Linked DNA regions of Homo sapiens: region 1 is linked to region 2. The links are contacts of gene promoters, found by promoter capture Hi-C in human tissues and cell types (Jung and others, 2019). All regions are on one chromosome and are shown on one strand. The core of a region is centred on a gene start or on the middle of the fragment in contact, and the rest is flanking DNA. Distances in the headings are between cores, read along the strand shown.

Evidence for each region. The method cuts DNA at HindIII sites, captures the fragments that hold promoters and counts their contacts. A contact is called where the count stands out against the background at its distance.
Region 1: a contact is called between a fragment that was not itself captured here and the fragment with the promoter of BTBD10 in region 2, in 1 of the 25 tissues and cell types used here (lymphoblastoid cells).

The regions. Positions count from the first base shown.
Region 1 is chr11:14,216,942-14,222,827 of GRCh38, forward strand. All of the region lies in intron 6 of SPON1 (spondin 1), which reads left to right. Among named protein-coding and RNA genes, the nearest start is that of RRAS2, 140 kb to the right of the region's middle. The HindIII fragment of the contact is 4,017 bases long and covers 565-4,581 here.
Region 2 is chr11:13,460,382-13,466,232 of GRCh38, forward strand. BTBD10 (BTB domain containing 10) reads right to left here and starts at 2,841. Exons shown (of 9, transcript NM_032320.7): 1 at 2,711-2,841. RefSeq lists an enhancer at 3,021-3,210. The HindIII fragment of the contact is 2,272 bases long and covers 1,805-4,076 here.

The DNA of each region.
Region 1 (5,886 bases), core at 1,323-3,822, 760 kb after region 2:
ATAACTATTGTGTTAAAAGCATTACTATGAGGCAGATATAGCAACAGCATCAGCCTGATCTAACCAAACAATGCCATCTCAGTAGGATACTGGTGAAGCCATTCCCTAGGAGAAGGTGGCGTGCGTCATAGGTGTTTGCTGGACTTTCTTCTGCCTTATTCCTGGTTCAGAGAAACTCAGTGATCCATTTTTCATCCCACTCCAAAGCAGATCAGATGGTTGTCTTGCTTGTATCAGAGCTAATGCTTCCGTGGGGAGAGCTCTCTGTTTCTGCCTGCAAGTGCTCACAGTTCGGTTGTTTCAGCCAGCACCAACATTTGTTTCTTAGATCTAAAAGTAGCCCTATTCCTGTCTGCTTTATATATTGGAGTTCTGAGTATACTTTTGTTTAACAAAATGTGTTCTATTACGTAAAGAAAAAAAAAGATTGATAGCTATTAGCTTAGGAGGCTTCTAGAACTCAGTGCACAGCCAGCTCTTGCTCTCTCATATATTTTTACAAATATCTTCAAGAAACAAATGGCCTTTCCACTGGCTCTTGAGGGATAATTTTAATAATATATTTGCAGAAATATTTGAAATGGAATAAGGGTATTATGACTGTAGACTTCACTTATTTATTGTTGAATCTTGTAGCTTCTGTATTAAAAAGAAAGAAAAAACACTTTTATTGAAGACAGTATGTCAGAAAAAACATGGATTTTTTTTTTTTACTCAAAAAGACTTGTGTTTAAATATAATTTGTGCCACTTATTAGCTCTGTGATCTTAGGCAAAATATTGAGATCTCTGAGTCTCCATTTTTTCATGTATAAAATAAAAATAATAACAATTCCTGTAATATACTGCTATTATAAGGATAGTTAGCTAATTTATGTGAAGTGCCAAGCACAGTGCCTAATAGTATTTGTAACTACTATTTATTGAACCCTTACTATGTGGCAGACACTGTCTAGGTCAATGGTTCTCCCTTGGGGACTTGTTAGAACTGCAAATTCTTTATCAGGCCCCAGCCTACACCTACTGAATCAGAAACCCTGGGGGTAGGGCTCAGCCGTCTGTTTTATAAGCCCTCCTGGTGATTCTGATACACACTAAAGTTTGCAAACCACTGTTCTGAGTGTCCAAGAAATTGAATGTATGATTATCATATTCATATTACACTACAGCTAATAATTTGTGCTGAAACAAATATAGATATGTCCTCTTCTATTTTGTTTGATGACAGCCCTAGATTTTTCCCACCTTAGTCATATCTGTGACCATTCCTTACAAGGAGATAGGCGACCTGGAAAACCCAAATATCATACCTCCTTCTCCCTCCCGAGTCCTCTCTTCCTCCCCTAGCGGGTCTGCATCCTGTCTGTGTCAAGCAGTTTATGAAATACCTGGTGAGAACTCAGCCACTCCAGAAAGAATGAATAGCTCCTCCTGAATGCAGCTCCAGCACCTGGAGTCAGTATCTCCCTGACTTGCCATTATGTGTTCCCATTGGTCCCCCTGATAAAATATGATCTCCCTGAGGGCAGGAACAACATCCTAATGATTTCTGTGTCCCCAGCACCCAGTACACTTAATAGACACCTAATAAATGAGTGGTGAATGAATGAAGTGTCAGCCCCAAATCAGAGGGACATTTGTTCCTGGAGCATTCAGGTGTTAGGCATACCCTAGCAGCCAGTATATTTCTAGTCATGGTGACAAGTAGGCAACGGGATTGCCTAGAGACCCATGAAATGTTATCTGAGCCATGTCTTCATTCATCCATAGGATCAGTTCTGTGCCACAAGGAAAGCTGTGTGACAGTCTCATGGCAGATCAGACCCACATTAGGAACAGCCTAGAAAAGCAAACTGCAAATATCCATTTCTTTTCTCTGTCATAATTTGTTTTCCCAGTTGCTGGCGAGGTTGAAATTAGCTCTGTCTGTTGACAATTTGGATACAATAACCTTTCTGTTTCGTGAATTCTGAACAGTGAAGGACTGAATTCTGCTCTGGGCTGCAGAAAAATAACAAAGCACTCAGTAGGATAGATGGGAATGGAGCACGGACTTAGCTGAGGAAGAATTTGGCCCTGCTCTGGAGCTCTCTTTGAATTTATTATTCCTGCCTTCCATGTCTTTTCATGCTAGGTGGGTGTAGAAAGCCATCCTGCTCACCACTTTGTCCCCCACCCACTGCCACCTATGCTGTCAGCCATTCATCTAACCCACTTAGAAGAACCAGAATGAATATAGATTTCTTCTTTCACACATTAATTTATGGAGCCTTCCTATTTCTTCTCATTGCAATGTTCCTACCTGCTGCAGTCACATTCAATTTTATTGAAAAGCAGCAGGGAATTCATCCTTTGCTGGAAAACTTTGACAATTAAATTCAAACTATAAGGAAAAAGTTATCCTAGTTTCAGTCTCTCTTTAAATCAAAGTGTAGACAGTATGTAGTGGGTTATGGTGAAAGGCCCCCATAATGAGGAGAGCAGGTACCCTCTAAGAGTTGAGGGGAAAAATCGATGCAGATGATATGAGTTAAACCACATACAGAAGTGACCCTGAGATCTGGATTTTAAGTGGATGATGGCCAAATTCCAATCACAACTGGTATGAATCCTCTAAAGTTGAATGTTTGTCATAAAACTGCCACCTATTTGGGTCATATTGTAGCCTGCTTGAAGAAAGATCTAACTAGGAGAGGGTGGTCTGCATGACCTCTAGAAAGACAGGAGTTTGTCGGGGTCTTCTGTGCAGTCCAAGAAGATAGCATGACCAGATGACATGATGTGTTTATCTGCAAGCCAGATCTATTCCCATAATGGGAGGTAAATGCATTTGACTTAGATAGCTCCATGATGTCCATAAAAACCATTCAGCTAAATACCTTTGCTTCAACTCTGTGCTTCCCAGGCAATATTCCATTAAGATTATGGCTTATCATGAAGACTTTCCTCCAACCCAGGCAACATGGTGAAACCCCATCTCTACAAAAAGTACAAAAATTAGCTGGGCGTGATGGTGTGCATCTGAAGTCCCAGCTACTCAGGAGGCTGAGGTGGGAGGATTGCTTGAGCCCAAGAGGTGGAGGTTGCGGTGAGCCGAGATTGTACCACTGCACTCCAGCCTGGGCAACAGAGTGAGCACTTGGATCAAAAAAAAAAAAAAAAAAAACTTTCCTACATATGGAGGCTGTGTTGCCCCACGCCCATAAGTTTACATAAAGTCCACTTGGCATTCCTGTTTCTCACTGTTGGGCATGTCTTCTACATCTTGAAAGTTTGGGTAGTGTGAGCCAGTTCCTCTGGTTGAACCCTTCTGCACATACCATCAAATTCAAGATCTGGACCAGGAAATAATAGGACCACACTCCGGACATGGTTCAGTAAACATCCTAGGTAACAAAACTCTTGAATTCAACTGTGAGAAGGTGATTTTTCTTCCCTATCTCTGTCTTCAGAAGACCAGCGTTAAAGTTGACTGATAATCACAGCCTTTTTTAAAAAAATTCTTACTAAGGTGACATTGTTAGGCTGTTTTGGGCAATCCTTTGAAGTGGTTTTTCCTCCCAAATTTTCTAATTTTTGTTCATTATATATTTGAAAAGAAATTCAAATTGCCTGATAATAGAAAATGAAAACATGACAAGCTATAAACTCTGACCTTAAAAGCATCTCTAATATAGCATCATAAAATATAATTAGAAATCCATTTCAACATCACATTACAGATCTATGACTTACAGGTAATTTCTGTCATTTAAATATGAGGGTGAGCTGATGGCTGAATTGGATTCTTAGGAGAAAAACAATTTCTTCTGCATTAGGAGTTATTAGTTTAATTGAATAATATCTGGATCATACTGGTGGTAATGTTAATGTTATTACCCATTATCTTGGTGATGGTCACACCACTGTTTCCAGGAAAAATATAGCCCATTAACTGAACAGAAGGATTAAAATAGGAACAAAGTGGCAAGCTTTTCATGGCTTATTATGCCAGGGTCAGGACAAAGGAATGGCCCTGACCTTGAAATGGGACAGAGGACCCAGCCTGAGCTAAATGCCTCAAAGAATTCCAAGGGAAGTCCTTTCAGGCATGACAGAGTGCATTTGGTTTCCTCAGCATGTCGTTCTGAACATTTCTACTCATTAATTTATTCATTTATTCACTTACTCGTTCATTCATTCAACCAGCCCATTCATTTATTCAACCAACATATTTTGTGCATCCTCCTGAAACCATGAATGGTGATAGATCATGGAGAGACAAAGATGACTTAGTCAAGGAGAGAGGGTCAAGGCTTATTGAGAACCTGCTGTATCTCAGACATTATAATGGGAGATTTCAGACAATATCTGTTTTATTCTTCTCGAGAATTCAGAAGGTAGGTAGAGTTGTTATACCCATTTTATACATGAAGAAACTGAGGTTCAGACAGGTAAAATGACTTGTCCAAGGCCTAGAAAGGGAAGGAGTCAGAACTCAAACCTAGGCCTGTCTTAATTCAAGGCCTAGGCTATTTCTACTACACCTGGAATTTGGACTTAGAACATAAACACATTTTTAAAACATTATAATACAGTGTGATGAATGGGATACACAGTCATATAAAGCAAGACAGCTGCCACGGCGAAAGCCAGATTTCCACTCTAAGTGACTCATCCGACGTTTTTAGGTAATAGGAAATGTCTAGGTGGCCCTAATATGTCCTCCAAATCTCTTCTTCATCCTCAGCCCCACACCCAGCTCTCCCTCCATCTCCTTCTTATCAATGGGGGGTTCTCTGCTCCCCCCATCTTCACAAGCGAAGGGCATTTGTTCTTCCACACCCCACATGATGCAGGGCAAGAGGAAAGGTCAGGCTCCACCTCATTCTCATCACCTCCTCACCTCTCATTAGAACCGTGATCCTGTGAGCCTCCTAATGCCCAGCCATTAACTAGCATCTGTCCTCCTGGTCTCTGCTACCTACCAGCCTTCTGGTCACTCCCAGCCCTCAGTGAAGATGTTGGCCCTGGGATCACTGTCTTATCCAACCCAAGTAGCTCTTCCTGGGACTAGGACCACTTTCAGCTGCTGTGAATACTGGAGTCATGTTGGCACCATGAGATATTTTATCATCCTATGAACTCATTTGGGAACTCAATGACAGGTGATACAATGGCCTAAGCCCATTTCAAAGAGTATTTCTGACAAAGCTTTGTGTAAGTACAAAAAAAATTTTCAGACCATGCTTTTTCCCATTATAACATTTCATAATCTCTTCCTTGTTTTGTCCCTGCACCTCTACCTCCATTAACCAGGTCTCATCAAGTTGTGACATAAGCCAGGTTTCATCAAGTTGTGACAGGTGACAGAGGCGTCACATGACAGGGGACCTGATTAGGAAATCCATATCCTCATAGGATGCACTTTAACATCTTCTTGAGCTGTCTTGATATTTTGAGACATACGGCAAAGATTCCATATACTGTTCCAGTGACCAGTGACCTTGAGAACATATTTAAAACTATAGATTTCTGTGCCCCACCCAGAGATCCCAATTCAGTAGCGCTGAGGTGGGATCTGAACATGAGTAGACTTAGAAAGCCTCTAGCTGATTCTGAAGCACAGCTAGTTTGGGGAGCACTGACATATAGCCACTGCCCATGAACCTGGATGTTCCTAAATCTTGATACCAATTGAGTGACTTGAATCCTCCCTCATCTGTATGTATACCATCATCAGGTCGGAAAAATACCTCCAGCTTCCAGCTTAAGGTTGCCCTCTCCTTTCCCACCACCAGTAACATGCTAGTAAACATTTAACAATAGGCTCTCAGAAAGAAAAAAAATTAAGCCCTGATTTATAATGTTTGCCAGTTTCCATGGTGTAAATACTCTCACCAGGGCC
Region 2 (5,851 bases), core at 1,591-4,090:
CTATATGCCTAAAAAACACCTCTTACTTAGCTTTGACCTCTAGCACTCCCATTCCCCATAACCCAACTAGGTATGAATCAGATTATGTGATTAAATTACTTCACATTAATGGGTAAATGAGGCTTAATCCACAAAGGTCAATTCCACACGTCATTAAACTCTACTATGTATAAGGCACTAAGTTTAATCAATTAATATACCTATCCTTCTTACAAGAAAAACTAACACAAATCAATCTTTTAATGAACAATGTAAGGAAGGGGCACAAGAGTGTTTGCTTCACATCACACTTTCTCCACCCAGTTCTTTCCATCCTGTTGCCAAACCCCTCCAATCTCCATCTGGCATGGAATAAAATCCAAGGGATCAGTATTTCTTCCAGTAAGTCAATGCCTAGGAAGACAATGTGGGATAGCACAGCAAACAATAAACATTCAAATCCTGAAATGGACTGTAGAGGGTCTCTTGTATTTAATTTTATATATTAGCTGCAAATACAATAAAGAGCTTCTAAATAATTCAATTTCTGTACAAGATACCTATAAATCAGCTTTGCTCAGAACTCTGAGTTTTTAAACCATAAATACTGAGATGCTTTTTCTTCAGTTATTTCCACAGTTAAAACGTTTATAGTAAATACCAGTTCAAATTGCCCTACTATAACTATACTTAAAGGCTATTAAACTTAACTACTGTTTTCAATTAGATGTGACATTTTTCCCAAGACCCCTTAAGTTTGAAACTCCAAACTTGCTTTAAACCTCCTTTTTTTCCAGTCATAAAATTTATTAATTTTGATTTATAACAGAGCTTCTAAACTGGAGAGGAGAATACAACTATGGACAGGTTTGGATTTGATTCAGTCACATGATATTTTTAATGGTTTTAATTAGTTGTCAATATTTTTAAGACGCAAGACACTGAATGCAAAAATCTAGATTTCCGAGTTCTCTTGAGAATGCTGAAGATGGGGTCCATATTCTTATATAGCACTGATTAGGGGGACCTGAGACTTGGATGTCTCTCTGATAAGGCATAGTGCATTTCCCTCATTTTCATTATCTAACTAGTACCCGAAGGCATGTGAGTTTGTTGCTCATGCTATGGCTTTGAAAGGTGCACAATATTTTCCATATCACTTCCATACTTCCCTAAGTCACCTATTATAAAAAGCCAAAAGCAGACCACAGTGGTTTGCAACTCCATAGTTAATAATTTAAAAAATTCACATGGCTTAGAGGGAGTGAGAAAGAAGAAAATTCAGACTGGTGGAAGGGTAACATAATTACATAGGGTTAGAAGTCTATCTGAAAGCTTTTCTGGGAGTGAGAAAAAAGGTGAACGAACACAAAAACATTGTTGAAACACTAAAAGCTTTCCTGATTGAACACTGTTACTCTCTGGTGGTTCCTTACCACATTCCATGCTTCAGAAACTTCCTTCCTACTTTGTATGTATTAATATAATAGCTGTTAGGTCATACACGCTGAGAAATATTGGGAAAATTTATAAAACACATTTACATCATCAGAAATAATTCTTCTCACACTTTTTTTTTTTTTTTTTTTACCAGTCTTGGTCCACTTTCAAATCCCTTCCCAAGTATTTTCTACTGCTTTCCGCTTTATATTCAAATGACAACTGCAGTCCTGGGTTTCAGGACTGAACTTCAATCCTGGACAGGCTCTCTAATACAGAAACTCTTTTGGCCGTTATGGCTGCATTCTTTATTATATCTCTTATTCCGATTTCCACAGTCTCTTTCATTGAAAATTTATCCCTAACCCCCTCTCTAAAAGATTTTGATCAAATTTGTGTAGTTGGGGGGTTGGGAGGATAGGGGCGGGAAGGAACTCAGTTGTCCAAATACAATTAATATCCTGTGCTGTTTCATTTAGATTGCTAATTTAAATAAAAAGCATGAAAACTCTGCAAGATAATAAATCTTCGTAAAATAATCTTGTTTACTAAGTGCACAAAGCCACAAGCAAGTGAAGCTCTATCTTTCAGCATGTCTGGACTAGTGACTTTTCATCATGGACTCAGAATACTGAGAAAGGAGAAGCAGGAAATCTGTGAGGCCCAGGGACAGTCACACTGGCCCACACTAACAAATTACTAACCGATGTCTCACCTTCCCCCGCCCCATTCCCAAAGATAAGGGTGTCAGGGCACCTGCATCTGAAGAAGAAAGACATCAGAACCTTTTCCGTGCAAGTTTTAAGAAAACAAAGCTTTACCACACGTAAAATGGTTACAACATAAAACCACGCAGCACGTTAGTGGGGTCTCACTCCTCTTCACCCAGAGGGAGGCTGCCCACCACCTTATCCCCTATTGTGATGCGCCTTCCTCAGGATGTCGCTGCGTTCGTCTGAGATGACAGGAAAGGGGCGGGGCACGGGGTTCCTCTGCCCTGGAAAGGGATGAGGGTATCGCCTTCATCCCCGGAGAAAGGCCCCCGGACTCCCAACCCAAAAGCAGCAGCCGCAAAACTCAAGTCTTATCCCGGCCTCTCCTAATTGGGTGCTCGTGGCCGGAGCCCAAAACGCCACCCACGGTACCCGAGCAGGGTCCGGCCGCCCAGACCACCGCCGCAGCAGCCTGGCTCTCACGCCCAGATTCGCCCTCCGCCCCTTTCCTCTTTCGCCCCGGCCAAGCCCAGCCTCCCGCGCCGCCCCCGCCGAGTTCCCCAGCTGAGTCCACTCACTCTCGAACCTGTAGTCCCCCTTCAGTGCCCACACAAGATTGGGGCAAAGGCCGGGGCCAGTGACACCTCCACTTCCTCCTCAGCCAGATCCCTCCGGAGGTGGCTGTGGAGGAAGCCACTGAGGCGGCTGCGCGTAGCGGAGCCGCCCCGGCAGGTTGCAGGCCGGCTCCTCAGCCTCTTACCGCGAGAGCTCACAATGCGAAGAGGCGAGGCCAGCAGCGTTCTCGCGAGAACGGTGCTCTCCGCCCAGGGGTGGGCGGGGCACCGAAGGAGAAGGCAGTTGAGGGCGCGGCGGCCACGGGTGGGATCTCAGGCGCGTGGAGAGGAAGGCGCCGCGCGACCTCTCCTCACAGACATCAGCTCGGGTCAACCGCGGGCCTCGAGCCCGAGTGGCTGAGGGCTGTTACCTTCAAACCTTTGAATCCCACGTTTTCCCCTTGACTTCCTGTCACCGTTAGAGAAAAGTGGACAGCGTCTCGGTCACAGAGTTGGAGAAATAGTGCAGGGACTCTTCAGGGAGAGCGTTTTCCTCATCAAAGCAAACTGCAAAATCGCTTCTGCCGGCGTGGACCTGATGAGAGTCGGTCGTCGTGAGGGACACCCTCTGTTCCCTAACGTCCCCCGCTGCTTATTTTTAAACGCTCGGTTGGCGGGAACCCCTGTGCCAGCTGAAACTCCTTCAGTTTGGCCGCCTAGGAAACACCGAGAGTCACCTACATGGGCTGGCTGGGCAATAAAAACGGGAAAAAATGTAAAAGACACAGTCTCCGCCTTCGAAGCTTACACCCCCGGGGCAAGACCTACAGGAAAATAGATAATCCCATTATTCTCTGATAAAAGCCGAGCTGCTTGCCATGAGCTCTGGGAGCAGACGGGGAGGCCTTGTTGAGAAAGCCTTCACCTGGGAGTGACAATTGCGCTGAATCTTAAGCATAAGTAAGTTCTCCAGTTTAGGGAAGAGAGGGAAGGGCATTGCAAGGAGAGGAAGCAAAGAGGAAGAGGACCTGGTTTGAGTAATTGGGTATGAAAACAGATATTGCAGCAAGAACTTTGTTGAAAAACCTTTAACCACTGTTTAGTTCGGATGAGAACATTCCCAGGCTCCTACGTGTGATACGCAAAGTATTTTCCAAATCAGTGTTTATGCTAAGAAGATGAGCAGTTGAGCTGGACAATTATAAGATAACTTCATCTTTCTCCTGTAAGGACACTTAAATATCAGAAACCTAAGAGAAACGGGTTATTGTCGTAATTCACTAAGTTATTATAGCCAACATTTTGCTAAATTGGAAATTGCCAATAATTTCAAGTTGTCTACATAAGAGCAATCTAATAGGAATTTTGTGATACAGTTTCTCAGAGAAACTCTGAGAAAATTCTCAGGCAAAAAACAAAAACGTCATCAGTCCTGATTTATTATCAAAATTTTCTCCTATAAGCTCTGCTCAGAAGAAGTCATTCTGTAGTCCAAGTTAGGGCTAATGAGGAGCCATACTCTTACATCAAAATAGAAGCTGTCCTTTTCTAAAGAAAGACTCTGGTATTTTGCTGTAGTTTCCACTCACCTTCCTTTGGACACATTATTTTCATATTACATATAAAAATATGTATACTATATGAAAAATACTATGTATACTATAGTTTTATTTGGCTTACCATACTCTCCCTACGAATAAGCCCAACACTTAGGAGGAAAACAAAAAAGTTATTCTAACCCTGCTGATACGGTTTGGATCTATGTCCCCACCTGACCTCTCATGTGGAATTGTAATCCCCAGTGTTGGAGGTCGTTGGATCATGGGGGCAGATTTCCCTGTTTTTGCCATTCTGGTGATAGTGAGTTCTGGTGAAATCTGTTCTTTAAAAGTGTGTGGCGCCCCCCCACCCCCGCCCCACTCCTCCCACCATATAAGACGTGCCTGCTGTACCTTGGCTTTCTGCCATGATTGTAAGCTTCCTGAGGCCTCCCCAGAAGCCCAGCAGAAGCCGTCGGACTTCCTGTACAGCCTGCGGAGCCGTGAGCCAGTTAAACCTCTTTGTTTTATAGCAGTGCAAGAATGGACTAATGCACCTGCCATAGGCCAATTGGGTGTTCTGTTAAGCATAATTTCACATCAAGTTCTTGGAATTTTCCAGGAAGCATTAGAAGAATCATATGAATGAAAGACTTCAGGCAAAATATGGAAACTTTGTTCCATGCTGGAATCTGTTCAAACCATCATATCCTACTTGGATGGGTCCTGGAGCTCATTTCATTCTGCTGTTCTTCAAAAACAAAAGAGAATGGGAGTTGGGAGAAAATAGAAAATCGAATAAAGTTTCTACTGTTCTTTGCTTTAAAAGAAAATTAATCGGCCGGGTTCGGAGGCTCGCGCCTGTAATCCCAGCATTTTGAAAGGTCGAGGCGGGCAGATCACGGGGTCAGGAGATCCAGACCATCCTGGCTAACATGGTGAAACCCCGTCTCTACTAAAAATACAGAAAATTACCCGGGGGTGGTGGCAGGCGCTTGTGGTCCCAGCTACTTGGGAGGCTGAGGCAGGAGAATGGTGTGAATCCGGGAAGCGGAGCTTGCAGTGAGCAGAGCTTGTGCCACTGCACTCCAGCCTGGGCGACAGAGCGAGACTCCGTTTCAAAAAAAAAAAAAGAGATAATTAACCTTTCAAATATTAAGGTAGTAGCACAGTAGCACTGGTAACAGTTATACATTTGGTAGGTAATGCCATAGATTTAGATAATCACAAATCTGCTCTACACGATAATTTGTAAATGCTAGCTGACTGCATAGGCTAAGGTTCAGAACTTTAATGAAAGTCTTTCTTCCACACACCAAAGAGGTCCATACAGAAAGAGAAGTTTCATATAGTAGCAGTGAACAAACAAGGTCGTTTGGTAGTTTGTGTTATAGCATGCTAAGGCAATATTGTTTCAAAGCAGATAAGACCACAGACCCAGAATCCTATTTAATTTTTAAAACCTGGAATTTCTTTGTACTACTAAGTTTGAGCACTGCCATCTAATGGCAGGAACAGGAAAATCACATACACGCAAAAATAACTCGATCCCTATTCAGCAAATACATTTATTAATCAAGCCCCTGTGTAAGAATACCAGAAGAGCTGGGCACTGTGGCACGTGCCT